2 separate regions of the Homo sapiens genome follow, and region 1 is linked to region 2. Evidence: promoter capture Hi-C in 16 types of primary human blood cells and fetal thymus (Javierre and others, 2016). All regions are on one chromosome and are shown on one strand. Each heading gives the region's core, a stretch centred on a gene start or on the middle of the fragment in contact. The rest is flanking DNA. Distances are from core to core; before and after follow the strand shown. Region 1 has its middle 11 kb from the start of LIN7A. Region 2 holds the start of PPP1R12A (protein phosphatase 1 regulatory subunit 12A).

The links. Contacts are between HindIII fragments. The CHiCAGO score rates a contact against its expected background, and 5 or more counts as called.
Region 1: a contact is called between a fragment that was not itself captured here and the fragment with the promoter of PPP1R12A in region 2, in 1 of 17 cell types (neutrophils). The highest score is 5.3, in neutrophils.

Annotation. Positions count from the first base shown.
Region 1 is chr12:80,946,290-80,950,632 of GRCh38, reverse strand. No RefSeq gene overlaps it. Among named protein-coding and RNA genes, the nearest start is that of LIN7A, 11 kb to the right of the region's middle. The HindIII fragment of the contact is 3,205 bases long and covers 41-3,245 here.
Region 2 is chr12:79,932,909-79,936,929 of GRCh38, reverse strand. It overlaps PPP1R12A (protein phosphatase 1 regulatory subunit 12A), which reads left to right and starts at 1,833. Exons shown (of 25, transcript NM_002480.3): 1 at 1,833-2,235. The coding sequence starts at 1,999. PPP1R12A-AS1 (PPP1R12A antisense RNA 1) reads right to left here and starts at 1,649. Exons shown (of 2, transcript NR_146535.1): 1 at 1,376-1,649. RefSeq lists enhancers at 1,318-1,883, 1,607-1,901, 1,948-2,247, 1,884-2,447, 2,588-2,647 and 1 more and a silencer at 2,328-2,417. The HindIII fragment of the contact is 9,894 bases long and covers 472-4,021 here.

The DNA of each region.
Region 1 (4,343 bases), core at 394-2,893, 1.0 Mb before region 2:
TTAAAAGATCCAGCATAAATACCACCATATTCATGAAGCTTTCCATGTTCCATGTAATACTGTGTTCATATCTCTTATATATGGTGGTGCTTACCATGTCCTACCCTGTTTTGCAGAGAATTGTGATAAATATTAAGTTCCTGTAGGGCAAGGGCCACATTTTATTTATTTTTTTCTTGTAAATCTCCATAGAACATAGTAGATAAAACATCTTGTACAAAGTGAGCAGTTAATAACTGTAGTTGAACTGATTTTCCATTGTAAAATGTATTTTAAATGGAGATTATTTGCTGGGCAGTATATTGTTCTCTTACTCATTCTTTTATTTATGTATTTATTTATATTTTGGGACAGGATCTTGCTCTATTGCCCAGGCTGGAGTGCAGTGGTGTGATCATGGCTCACTTCAGTCTTGACCTCCTGGGTTCAAGTGATCCTCCTGCCTCAAACCCCACCTGAAGGAGCTGGGACTACAGGCCGCACCACCATGCTGAGCTAATTTTTGTATTTTTTTTTTTTTTTGTAGAGTCGGGGATTCACCATGTTGTCCAGACTGTTCTTGAACTCCTGGGCTCAAACAATCCACCTGCTTTGGCCTCCCAAAGTGCTGGGATTACAGGCGTGAGCCACTGTGCTGGCCTTCTACTTCTTTTATTCACAAATATTTATTGGGTATCAGTAAAATGCCAAGCAATGAATATGCAGTGGCAAACAAACATTGTCCCTCTACTTGTGGAATTTACAATCTAGTGTAATAACACAGTGTAGTATAAAGGGCACTGGACTGGTTGAAACTTGGACTTCAGTCTCAGCCCTGTTCCTCACCAACTAGGAATAGTGGGGCAGTTGATATAATCTCTCTGGGTCTCATTTCATTTTCCACTGTTGGTTAAATTTGATACTCGTAATGAGTATCAAATTCCATTATGGCTCAAAAATGTTTTCATATTTTGTCTTGATTCTGGAGCAACATGTTCAGATGGATGCAACTTGTTCTATGATATATTTGTCAATATCAGGGCTGTCTTTCTTTCTTTTCTTTTCTTTTTTTTTTTTTTTTTGAGTTGCTTTCTCTCTGTGTGCACCAAAGACAGAATCAATGTATATGGGTGCATAGTAAGTAACATCAAATAGAAATAAAGAAGTAAAAATCAGCTTCAAATATTTTAGTAGGCCTAGAATCATGTACTAAACATTAATCATAAAACAATATAGAATTAGCAGTGTATTGCTTTAGAAAAATGATGGCCACATTGGAAAATCCTGAACAGGAAGTTTCCTGGAGTCATGAGGGTTTCCTCCATCCACGTTTACTCAGTCAGGCAGTCATGATGGGAAAGATCATCTGCTCCAAATCAGTTCAGTGCTCTATGGAGAAATTGAGGCCACTAAGCAATAGCCGAACTATAGAGTATTACGCATTACTTTGAAGACTATTAAAAGAAGTAATTCACAAAGCTACTCATAGAGTCCATATTTTGGCATTTAAGAGGATTGAGAATGGAAGAACCTATATGGCCAAGGCAGTATCCATCAACTCAGGTGAAGCAGATCCTTCAAAAACTGATTAAACCTGGACCTCGATCCACTTTTATTAACTCTCTCTCTCTCTCTCTCTCTCTATATATATACATTTTATTAACTCTCTCTATATATATAACTTCTATATATATAACATATATATACACATTATATGTATATAACTTATGTATATCACTTATATATACACATATATGTGTATATATGTAAGTTTTATATATATATACACACACACACACACACACACACACACACACACACACTTAAAAAAAGAAAAACAAAAAAAACCTCTATGCAATATTTATTTCAATACTCTGTACTCTTCTCAGACCTAGTTTGGTCTCAGTACATGGCTTTGTTTCTTATATCACTAAATCCAGGGTCTTTGTTCAGGTTGGCTCTTATTCTCTCAGCAGCGCTTGTGACACAGCGCCCATTTCTTTTGTATTCCCTTGCTGTGTATGTTATCAGTCTCTCTTAGTTTTCCTTCTACCTCTTGTTTCTCCTTTCCTGGATCCTTTTCCTTTATATGAACTTTAAATGTAGGATTTCATCAGGGTTTAGTGTGAGACACTCCCCATTCAGTAGTCTTTCTTTGTGTGGTTTCCTCCTCTCTAGTAATTTCAATTATAATTCAAATGGTTTCCAAGTTTATACCTCTAGTTCAGGACTTTTCTTAGCTACAGACTCATAGTTCATCAATTATGACATAACCATTTTGACATCTCAAAAGTGTCAAACTTTGATGTCAAACTTCATAAGTTGAAAACTAACTTTTCTTCCCAATTTTTCCTTCAATATTTCCTACCGCCATTTATCCATTCATTCATGTCAGAAGCCTAGGAGGCACTTTTTAATATTGTGTCTCCTTTACCACTTGCATACAATCTTACCAAAGGCCATGGGTGTTATCCTTCAAGCATTTCTGGGATCCATCCACTTCATTGAATTTCAATTCCATCTTTGTAGTCCAAACCACTGTACTTTCTTACCTGGATTGCTGAATAACCTCTTTAATGGTCACTTCTAATTTATACCTGCTCCCTGCACCCTGATCACTCTTCACATTGCATTCAGATATTAAAGAAAATACAAATCTCTTTATTTCACTTACTCTGCTATTTAAGACTACTCCCATAACTTCCCATTTCTCTTGGGATGAAATCCAAAATCCCTCATGTGGCTTTCAAGACCTGTTATTTTTACCTTAGCTTGGCAGACTCTCTGGTTCTGCTTCCTTAAGCCACATTGACCTTTCTCTCTGCTTTTTGAAAGGGCCAAGTGCTTTCATGCCTAAGGTACCCCATAGGGTACCTGATCTTGGAATGGTCTCTACAACCCTCACCTTTGCTTGGTTAACATCTAATACTCATTCTTCACATTATACCGTAAGTGTTACTGCTCTGGAGATATCCTTTCTGAATCCCAGATCGGTTTATGTACCAGTTACAGGCTTTCTCATTGCACGATGTACTTTCCTCAATTGCATTTATATTATTGAGGAATAATTCCTACAAATACCAATAATTCCAGTTGGGTATTGGTGGTTTTGAAAACCGCTCAATGTTTAGTGCTTAGCACAGCATGTGGCACTTAGTATCAACTAGACATGAAATTATAGAATAAATGAACCAATCTCTCTCTCTCTCTCTATTTCTCCTGAAGCAAATGTCTTTCATAACCACTCCAACATTTTTTCCTAAGCTTTAAAAAAGCACCAGTAAGATTTCTGGAGTCTTTAGAAGATGGTGCAGGAAGTAAGGAGTGTTGGAGGAAAGAAAGAAAGGAGCTTATGATGGTGGTCACTGTCCACCATGATTTCCTAAATATACACACCCACCCATTCTGCTCCTGGGAGGCCTTCACTTGTTTTCTCCAAAGACAATAAAAGCAAGCATTGTAGCTGCTACTGACTTATGTAAGGCATAATGTTTTCAGTTCGGTTATTGTTCTACATCCATCTTTTTTGTATTTTCTCTTTATTACATGATTATTTGTGATGATGTATGCCAGCAACTTATTTGCAGAATTCACAACTGACTTCAGTATAGAAGTTCAAGAATGAATGTTTTTGAATGCACATACATATACACACACACACCCCTAAAGGAGAAAACAAAAAGAAATTAAAATTAAAATACTATTAGTCTTCGGAGACAGAAGTTTATCATGATGTTTCCTACATAACTACAAATTTGACGATGATTGTAGTTGCAGTATAGAAGATTTTCATGATGGTTCCCATATAACTACAAACTCGACACTGATTGTAGTTGTAATAAAGATAAGGCCAGTAGAGAGCACTATATGCACTAGCTTTTAAAATAGTCTTTGCATTACTAACTACTAATAAAATTTAATGAAAGAATAGTATTTATTGTTTTAAGTTGTACTTAGCTTTTTGATTCAGTTAATAAATCAACATGTCATTTTATTTGAAAATGAAAGTACTTAAACATCTCTGTGTTTTCATTGTGTTCCTATACTATTTCATTTAATGGAAATAAAATGTTCAATAAAACAAATATCTAAAAGTGGCTCTACTGTACAGCATAATGACTACAGTTAGTAATCTATGTATTCTTGACATAAGAGAGTGGATGTAAAGTGTTCTCATCACTATAATAATAATATGATGAGTTAATACATATGTTAATTAGCTAGACATGTCATTCTGTGATGTATATACTTAAAAACATCATGTGGTACATGATAAATACATACTTTTTTTTCCTAGTTGGAGTCTTGGTCTGTCACCACCAGGCTGGAGTGCAGTGGCGCGATCTCGGCTCACTGCAACCTCC
Region 2 (4,021 bases), core at 584-3,083:
AAGGGCACTTTAAGAGCTACCACATAGGCCATAACGTTCTTGGAAAACAGGATATGCTGTCAGTTGCCTAGGTAGAGACAGGAGCTGACAAGGCAATCCTCAAGTTCCTTTCTTTTATTCTGAGAGCTGTATTCTGTGGATAGGGATTTTGTATTTTAGTGCTAACAATGTTTTTCAGTACCTAACACCATGAGTATTCAAAGGTCTGATGTTATCTTTAATGTATGTAATGAACATACAATGGTATATCTTATGAATATTACATTCATTTTCTATTCCTACAACGTTTTCAGAGGAAATATTTTTACCCTGACCTGGATTCTATCGCTATCCTAATAACTGTGGTTCAGAAAATTGTCTCACAGGCAGACAGTTTCCTAATCACGTTTTACTCAATTATTTTATTTCTCAATATGATAGGCTGTGAAGTAGTCCACTGGAAAAGGCATCATGCTGAGAGTAAGAAAAGCTTATTTGTTCACTGCTCTATCTCCAGCACCTAGAACAATGCCTGACCCAGAACAGGTGCATAGTATTTGCTGAGTGAATTCTAATCCTACTTCTGGGTAAAATTAAGTAAATTAATTAGTTCTTGAGGGACTCTGTCTAGATGACCCCTAAACTTCCATGGTAAGGTTTTGTGGTTTTTATCTTGGCTTTTCTAAATGCTCTAAAAATAGTAGTGGATGGTAACAATGCAGTGTTCAGTAAAATCAATTGGTGGAGATTGTAGATAGATGGCTCATAAGACATCAGTATTACAAATCCTATGTGTGTGCGCGTGTGGTCATACAAGGCAAAGTTAAAGTCTTTTTTTTATGACGATGATAAATTAGTCTTGTTTGGGCGACTGAACTCAAGAGGTGGTTCAAATAAATGTCATATTTTTCATTGTATCTTCAGTGCCTAGTACAGTTACTGGCTCATAGTAGGTATTCAATAAATAGTGGTTGAATTAATTGCCTTCCTTAACGTTCCGTTTAAATGCTAGACGCAGCTAGGTCTTTACCCCTCCTTAGAAAGAGATGGAGCTGTAACCAGAAATCCCTTAAAAGGTAAGGACCAGTAATCAGGCTGAGCTAAGCTCATGGGTAGTACGAGACAGGCTTAAAGCACTGAAGGAAGAAAGAAGAGAACCCAAGCGTGAGAGAAAGCAAAACAAAACAAGTAAAGAGAGGAAGAAAAACATTTCTAAAGTGGGGGTTGGCAGGAAGCCACAGCAATTACAGCAGGTCAACCCTTGTCAATAGGTGGTCACCTCAAGAACTTACCATTAAAACCCTCGGCCACACAGACCCCACTTTTAAAAGGTTATTAATTCTGACATGCCCAAGTTCATCTGAGTTCCTTAGAAAGATCAACCAGCAGCACCTACTTCACGACCTATCCTCCATTCCATTCAAATAACGCGGCCAATAGGAAAATCCTCCGCCCTGAGCCAACGACTCGGCGTAGCTGAGACAGCACGGGAGGCAGATCTGCCCTGTAGAGCCTTGCGGTTCCACTGCTGGCCTCCGGATTCCCGGGAGCCCCCAGCCCGACAGGACAACCTTCCTTCCCCGCTTCCTCCTTTCCAGGTCTGTCCCAGCCCCCGCTGCCTGGGCCACACCCGCTTCCCTCTGGTGGCCCAGCCACCACCGCCGCAGTTCGCGGGAGCGCTCTTCCTGGGGCGGGCACAGGCCCAGGGCGCATGCGCACTGGTCGAAGGGCGCCTCCCAGTCCGGATCTCGCGAAGTTACGTTAGATTGGCCGCCGGTGACGGGTGGCCGTGCTGGGGGCGGGAGGGCTTCTGTGGTAGGAAGGGAGGTCCGCTCGGCCGGGTGCGCCGCCCCAGTGCTCTGTGGGATACTGGAAGTCTCGAGCGTCGGCTCCGGGTTCCCAGCCCTCCTCTGGCCCGCACTCATAGAAACATTCACACACCCCCTGCCTCCCCTCTCTTCCCTCTCCGCCTCCCCCTTCCCCCCCTCGCGATAAGAAGACCCGGCGGCAGGAGAGGGGATGAAGATGGCGGACGCGAAGCAGAAGCGGAACGAGCAGCTGAAACGCTGGATCGGCTCCGAGACGGACCTCGAGCCTCCGGTGGTGAAGCGCCAGAAGACCAAGGTGAAGTTCGACGATGGCGCCGTCTTCCTGGCTGCTTGCTCCAGCGGCGACACGGACGAGGTCCTCAAGCTGCTGCACCGCGGCGCCGACATCAATTACGCCAATGTGGACGGACTCACTGCCCTGCACCAGGTCTGTGCGCCCCGCCGCCGGCTCTCCTGACCGTGAGGGTTCTCGTCGGCCTCCTGCTCGGGCCTGCCCTCAGTTCTCCACCTCTTGAGGCTGGGGGCGGCGGGAGACTCCCTGCTGCGGGGTGAGGGGGCGGTTTCCCCAGAGGGCGGGAGGGAGAGCTGGTGGAAGGGAGGGCGCTGGGCTTGAGGCCCCCCTTCAGAACAGTTGCTGGTGGAGTTGGGAACCGGGTGATTTCCGGGGCATAGGGGAAAAGGAACTGTGGTCGTTTGGGGCCCCAGGGCCATTCGTGGATAAGTCTGGGATTTGGGGTCGAGACAAGGAGGGGTGTAGTGGGGTTGTGCCTGGGCCCCGGTGTCAGTGGTATATTCGGAGGGGTGGATGCTGAAGGAAGAAAACTAACAAGGGGCATTACGGACGGTTAGGCAGATGAACATCTTTGACTTGTAGGTGGGCATTGGATTTGTTGCACTTTTTAGGACTTGATTACAAATGATGATAATAATAGTAATCTAGAGCCCTAAGCCGAGTGCCCTGAACGAACGATTTCCTGTTTTCTCATTTATTACTCTTGGTCACTGGGGAGGGGAAAACAGGGTGTAATTAGCTGATCTGCACCGGCTGAAAGGAAGGGGATGGAAGTGGGTAGAGTAAGGAAGCCCTCTAAAGGGCTTGCCCACCTCCGGACCGGAACGTGTTGAGTCTGATACTCGAAGTTTGCCGCAGTGTCAGAGATCCTTGAGCCCCAGGTCCTCGGGTGTGCACTGGTGTTAGAAAGAGAAGAATAAATAGGGGACACTCTTTTCAAAGCCGGTTACCAAGCTCTGGTTTTTCTTTTGGGGTTGGGAAAAAAGAAAGCTGGTCACAAACTTTTCTCAAAATGGATGCTTTGTGCATATTAAAGTTTTATAGTAGTCTGATTGGGATCTCTCAATGTTAGCCAAATAAGGAGAAACTATTGGCAATCCAGAGATAATGTTGCCTTGCCTTTAACAGGCCAAAAGCAACACAACCACGTAGAGTTATGCATAAAAAGCAATTTTTAAGTGACGGTAATAGGTGACAAAACATAGGCTTTTTCTATTTTCTTAGCGGGCAACTTGGAATAACTGTAATAGAAAATGACTTTGCAGCGATAGCTTCCCCTTAACAATGAAAAGACTTGTAAGCTATCTCAAAGTTGCCTTGGTTGTGTGTGGAAGATGCATAGCCTTATTTTGAATAATGTTGTAGTAAAAACTTGTTTGGGAGGTTGAAACTCAAGGCTTTATATTTCATGAATATTAACTTGATGCCTTTTAAAAAAAAGGTGTGTAGTGACATTTTTCCTTGTCCTGCTTACTGTTTAAGGGAGTGATGACCATTTTAAATTTTGTGTAATGGAATTCTCTTATCAGACTTGGAGTATAGCCTTTGTTTACAAAGTTGACTGGATATATTGAAATGATTGACACATTGCAGGACAAATATGGAATTAAAAATGTGGCACCCAGTAAAAATATAGCAGGGTGTCTAGCGCTTTCTCAATTTCATTAATTTAGATTCTCTAATGCATAGCAAACTTTTTATTTGGGTGAAGTTTATTTAAGGCATATCATAACTCGTAAAATTTTAAAACCATGGTGTTGAGAATGAAGGAAACTTTTGGCATTAAAAATGATAATGTAATTATATAAGATGAATCTTCAAATTTCTTTCAAGTGTACTTTACACGTTTTAGTGTGAAACAGATTTTGAAAGACGATTATTACTGTAGGAGGTCAGGATAATTGGATAATGGTTCGCATCA